Regions from separate parts of the Homo sapiens genome. Here region 2 is linked to region 1. Evidence: promoter capture Hi-C in human tissues and cell types (Jung and others, 2019). All regions are on one chromosome and are shown on one strand. The core of a region is centred on a gene start or on the middle of the fragment in contact, and the rest is flanking DNA. Distances in the headings are between cores, read along the strand shown. Region 1 holds the start of CLCN7 (chloride voltage-gated channel 7). Region 2 overlaps IFT140 (intraflagellar transport 140).

Evidence for each region. The method cuts DNA at HindIII sites, captures the fragments that hold promoters and counts their contacts. A contact is called where the count stands out against the background at its distance.
Region 2: a contact is called between a fragment that was not itself captured here and the fragment with the promoter of CLCN7 in region 1, in 3 of the 25 tissues and cell types used here (IMR-90 fibroblasts, aorta and small bowel).

Annotation. Positions count from the first base shown.
Region 1 is chr16:1,473,477-1,476,309 of GRCh38, forward strand. CLCN7 (chloride voltage-gated channel 7) reads right to left here and starts at 1,552. Exons shown (of 25, transcript NM_001287.6): 1 at 1,358-1,552. The coding sequence starts at 1,498. RefSeq lists silencers at 1,295-1,504, 1,625-1,974 and an enhancer at 1,512-2,055. The HindIII fragment of the contact is 17,994 bases long and covers 1-2,833 here.
Region 2 is chr16:1,559,212-1,561,911 of GRCh38, forward strand. All of the region lies in intron 18 of IFT140 (intraflagellar transport 140), which reads right to left. Among named protein-coding and RNA genes, the nearest start is that of TMEM204, 27 kb to the left of the region's middle. RefSeq lists a silencer at 442-627 and an enhancer at 2,594-2,700. The HindIII fragment of the contact is 9,348 bases long and covers 1-2,700 here.

The sequences.
Region 1 (2,833 bases), core at 302-2,801:
GATTCTCCTGCCTCAGCCTCCCGAGTAGCTGGGACTACAGGCGCCCGCCACCACGCCTGGCTAATTTTTTGTATTTTTAGTAGAGACGGGGTTTCACCATATTAGCCAGGATGGTCTCAATCTCCTGACCTCATGATCCACCCGCCTCGGCCTCCCAAAGTGCTGGGATTACAGATGTGAGCCACCGTGCCCTGCCGTCCTTCCTAATCTTTAAGCACAAGACAAGTGTTTAAAGGACTAGACAAGAGAAAATGTAAAGAATAACTGCAAAGCAGATTAAGACCCATCAACAAAACGGTCCATTAACTCAAAAGTAACACAATACGGCCAGGCGCAGTGGCTCACGCCTGTAATCCCAGCACTTTGGGAGGCTGAGGTGCGGGGGATCACGTGAGGTCGGGAGTTCGAGGCCAGCCTGACCAACACGGAGGAACCCCGTCTCTACTAAAAATACAAAATTAGCCGGGCGCGGTGGCGCACGCCTGTAATTCCAGCTACTCAGGAGGCTGAGGCAGGAGAGTCACTTAAACTCGGGAGGTGGGGGTTGCAGTGAGCCGAGATCGCGCCATTGCACTCCAGCCTGGGCAACTACAGTGAAACTCCGTCTCAAAAAAAAAAAAATATTAAGACAATACACAGACAGGGAAACAAATGTACCCGCAACGGTTCTCCAGACCTTAACACTGCTCAGACGCACGCTGCAGGGTGACATGCGGAACGCATTCCAACCTCTGACTTGCTGCTTATTGTGTTTGCCTGCACATTGCAAATTCAACTCGGTGCGAAGGGAGACTGAGTACAAATACTCGTCACTCCCAAGATCACCTGAAAGTCGGGACTGATCCCCACACAGAAAGATGGCAGATAAAGGCGCTCAGTCATTCTCACTGAAAGACAGTGACCCGGCTGCAATCTTAACTGTTTCCATCTCCCAGGGGGTCAAAAACGCAAACAAAATTAGTTGCTCGTGTAGGATGACAATTTTTAAAAGTCACCTGAACAGAAAGCCACTTGCACCCCTTTAGGGCCAGTCTGGGGGACACCGGAGGGAATGAACGTGCGCCACGGCTGCCCCGGCGCCCCTCAGCGCCCCACATTCCGCGGGGTCTGGCGAGCTCCGCCTCGCCCACGCAGCCCTCCCGGCCACCGAGCCCGGCGCGGCCTCCGAAGACTCCAGACCCCAGGCGCCCCCGCCAGCCCGGCCCCGCCGAGGAGCCCCGGGGCGCGTTCCCGAGTCCACCGCGCCTCGGTCGCCTCCAGGACCGAGACACGCGGCGCCGCCAGAAGGCTCACGAGGGCGCGGGCTGCGGGGCGCACGAGGGCTCAGTTTCCCCGCCTGCGCCCTGCCCGGCCTCACCTGGCGCGCAGCCCCAGGCCCAGCCCCGTTCAGCAGCGGCGTCCCCCCGCCGGGCCGCGCCGTCCTCCGCAGCAGCGGCGCCGCCTCCTCGTCGTCCCGGTCCCGGCCGGACCAGGACACCTTCTTAGAGACGTTGGCCATGGCCCGCCGCGGAGCGACACCGGCCGGGAAGCGCCGGCTGCCCCCGTGTTTGTTCTCGTGACCCGCGCCGGCGGCCACGTGACGCGCGACGGGGCCACGTGATGAGCGACGGCGACCATGTGACCTGCAACGGCAACCACCGAGGCCCGGTCGCGCGGGGGCTCCTGGGAGCCGCGCTCCCGGCGGGTCGTGGCGCCGCCCGCCCTAGAGAATCGCCGCGGCCCTGAGGACCCCGTTCTGCCCACGCGACTGCAAAGGCGGCCCCGTTGGGCTGAGCGCCGAGTGCTTGGGAGGCGAATGGCCGCCCCCGGGACCTCGGGCCCGGGAGTCGGGGCGAGGGAAGCGCCCGGGGCCTGAGGGCAGGAGCCGGCTGGAGGGGCTCCCCCAGGCCCGGTCGCCCGCGCCGATCGTGACGGAGCCGCGGTGGGGAAGGGAGGAGGGAGGCAGGGGCGAGGGCAGGCCTTTCCTTGCCATAGGCGGCGGCTAAAGACGTGAAGGATGAAATTAGAAGTCCCGAAGCATGCATCCGCCCTCGCAGTAGGCACTCGGGCGAGGGTCGGAGTGGAGGCTTCCTCCAGGCAGCCCCAGAGGGTCCTCCCGCCTAATGAGAAAAGAACAGAAGGCGAGTCCTCTTCAACGATCAGGCCCCAGAGACAGTACAGGAGGGTCGCCTCTGGAAACTGCCGGCTACTACGCAGATAGCTGTGAATTAGCCAAATAGCCGCCCGGACCCTGTACCCGCACCAGGGCACAGCCCATCACTAATCAATGGTATTTCCATAAACCAAAGAGAATTCTTGACAGCTTTACATCAGCCCCCACCCTGTCCCCACCTTCTGGGTCATTTATTTATTTATTTTGAGACAGGGTCTCCTTCTGTCGCCCAGGCTGGAGTGCGGTGGTGCGGTCACAGCTCAGTGCAGCCTTGACCTCCTGGACTCAAGCCATCCTCCCGCCTCAGCCTCTGGAGTAACAGGGACCACAGGCCTGCACCACCACACCCGGCTAATTTTTGCTGTGGAGCTCACAGTGTGTTGCCCAGGCTGTTCTCAAACTTCTGACCTCAAGTGATCCTTCCACGTTAGCCTCTAGAGTAAACTCTTTATATTTTGTGCCTCATCCTCTTCCTTTTAAAAGGTCGATATTTTTATTATTGAGACGGAGTCTCACTCTGTCGCCCAGGTTGGAGTGCAGTGGCCCAATCTCGGCTCACTGCCTCCCGGGTTCATGCCTCAGCCTCCCGAGTAGCCGGGACTACAGGCGCCCGTCACCATGGCCGGCTAATTTTTTGTATTTTTAGTACAGATGGGGTTTCACTGTGTTAGCCAGGATGGT
Region 2 (2,700 bases), core at 40-2,539, 85 kb after region 1:
AAACAACAGGGAATTCCTGCCTGCTCTGGTTTAATAAACTGCAAGGAAGCGCCCTGACCTCTGATAACAATGTCAGCTTGGTGTGGACAGAATGGGTACCCAGTTCGCTGTGTGAATGGGAATTCTCATCATTCACCATGTCCTGCTCACAGCTCTGTGAGGGAGGGACTGTCTATCCCACGTCACAGCTGACCAGTCACACGGTGCAGAGGCAGGGTCCTAAGAGCTGCTGGACCCGGATCCACCCTCATACCTCGGAGAAACTAGGCCGAGCCGTTTGAAAATGTGAACAAGGGCAGCGTTAACAGACAAAAGACGTCATGGCTAGTCCTCACTAGACTTGAATGGCTGAGTTACGAAAACTCCCTCTATTGCAAATGTAGGTAAACTAAGTACTTCCTGTGTCCCACACAGCAGAGGAAAGAGCTGCTGTGTCACATGTCCCAGCCATGACCACAGCTGGCTCCTGATGAGCTTTGCTAGGTGAGAGGCATCCTGCTCAAATAAAGAGAGCTGACACTGAGTGTCTCAGGCTTCCAATAGACCTCGGTAAAGCGAACATGCAAGGTAAGCAGAAAGTATCGGTGCACAGACAATTGTACTGAAAATAAGGGAGGAAAAGGATCTCAGGAAAACAACCCGGTGAAGCAAATGACACACGACCTGGGCGTCTGTACTTACGACTGCGTCATACACGCCTGCTCTCTGGAACAACAACTATGAGGAGTGGACGCATGCGGGAAGGTGAGAAATGAGAGAGAAAAGAACAGATGCATGAGTGTGTGCAAGACACAAACGCCACCATGCAAAATTAATGGGGAAAAACTCAACAGAAATAATGTAAAACATTGTTAATGCTTTGAGTTCTGAAATAAAAGAGAAATTAAAGCACATAAGAAACGTAAAGCCAGCATGAAATTCGGAGGAACGCCAATCTGGTGACACTTGTCTATTAAAATACGGGAATTAAGGAAACATGCATTGACAGAGCAGGGAGCCCTCCATTTGGCGAATCACACGATGCTTTCCCAGTCTTCATGAAGCCAGACTGCCTCCACCGCAGGGAACAGTGTGACGCATAAACCAGCACCACGCCGGCCTCTGCTGGCTGTGCAGCCTGGCTCTACATGGTGACCAGGAACACGGCCGCCAACCGCACCCAGGTTCGCGTTTGTGTGAATGCTGTTAATTCATCACTGCACACAAGGTTCCAGCAGAGCCCGAGGACCAGAGGCCAGCACACACCTGGTCACGTCATTGTCACAAGTTAGGCAGTGCCCCACCCCACCACCACCGTGTCCTTTATGCCAGGTCCTATGAAGGTGAATGCCAGCTCAGGGGTGTGTGTGGAGCCGGTGCGCCCGCGGTCCACCGTGGTGGCTGCTGGTGCAGTAGCATCTGTGTTGGCTTCTGTGGCCATGCAGGGCTGCCTGTCCTTCCCCTTCTCGGAATGTCCCTCTGGGGTCTACGCTCCCTCTGTCCCAGTTTAAATGCTCCCTCGACCCACCTTGGGTTATAAAAGTAACACAGGCTTACTGAAGAAAATTAGAAAAGTACAGAGTTCATTCTTAACATCGATAAGCCACTGCATGTGGAAATTCAAAAGCAATCCAGGTCCGAGTCTACAGGGTTTAGTCCTTCCTCTGATTTGACAGTAAACAGGAAGAGGCAGAGAAGACTCTGTGCGTGTTGTTTGCTGACGGAGTGTGTAACAGGAGAGAAGCTTCCATGTTTCACAGAAATAAAAGCAGCAGCAGCTGGTGGCATCCTAGGTCCCGAAAGGTGGAAGCTGGTGGCCCCCTGCCTCCCGCCTGCAGAACCCCTGTGGGGCTCACAGGCCGGCGCCAGCTGGGACGTGAGTCTGAGCCTTAGGTCAGCCAGGCTCCTCTCTGAAAAATCCCCACACGTGACTCGGGATGCTCCCAGAGGCTGAGAACAACAGGTCAGTGAAGCGAGGGGAGCAGCTCTCTCAGAGCCAGGCACTCCACCGTGTCTCAGAATGCTCGTGGGGCACACATGGGCTGCTGTTCTGCAGAGAAGCTGCAGATCCTTTGATCAGCACGCCCTCTCAGAAGCAGAGAATGACTGTTTCAGGTCCAAAAGGGACCTTGGAGACACGGGGACCAAGTCGCAGAGAAGGAAATAACTTGTTCAAAAGAACCTACTGGGGTGTGTGTACTGATGACGATCCCATTCTCTCAGTAATTTAAAAACACGTCCATGCATGAGTCACACACGGACGGGTGTCCAGAAGCCAGAACCCTACTGAAAGGAGCCACCAGCCTGCCCACAGTGGCTGCCTCCAGGCTGGGATTATGGAGATTTGTACTATTTGGGTCTTTACTTCATTCTTTGTAGTTCCTAAGATCCCTACAGTGAATATAGAAATGCATAATTTTAAGAAGGCAGCTAGAATTTTAGAAAGACAGAAAAGCTAAAAAGGTGTTCAGCATTCGGGGAAAAGGCAAGGGGGAAGGGTGCAGAGTCCTGAGTCCTGCCCGAGAGCTCCTTCACCCGGAGACAGCACTCATTAGCACGAGTTCTCTCTATCCTGAGAGCAAAACCACTTCCAATTCTCCCCAGACAGACCGCAGTGTTTGCTGGAATTTCAGGCGACAAGTGAGACTGGATGGCTGATGCTGTCTACGGAGAGGGAAGCCCGGCAGAGCCACGAGGGCTAACTCACATTTCAGCTCCCTG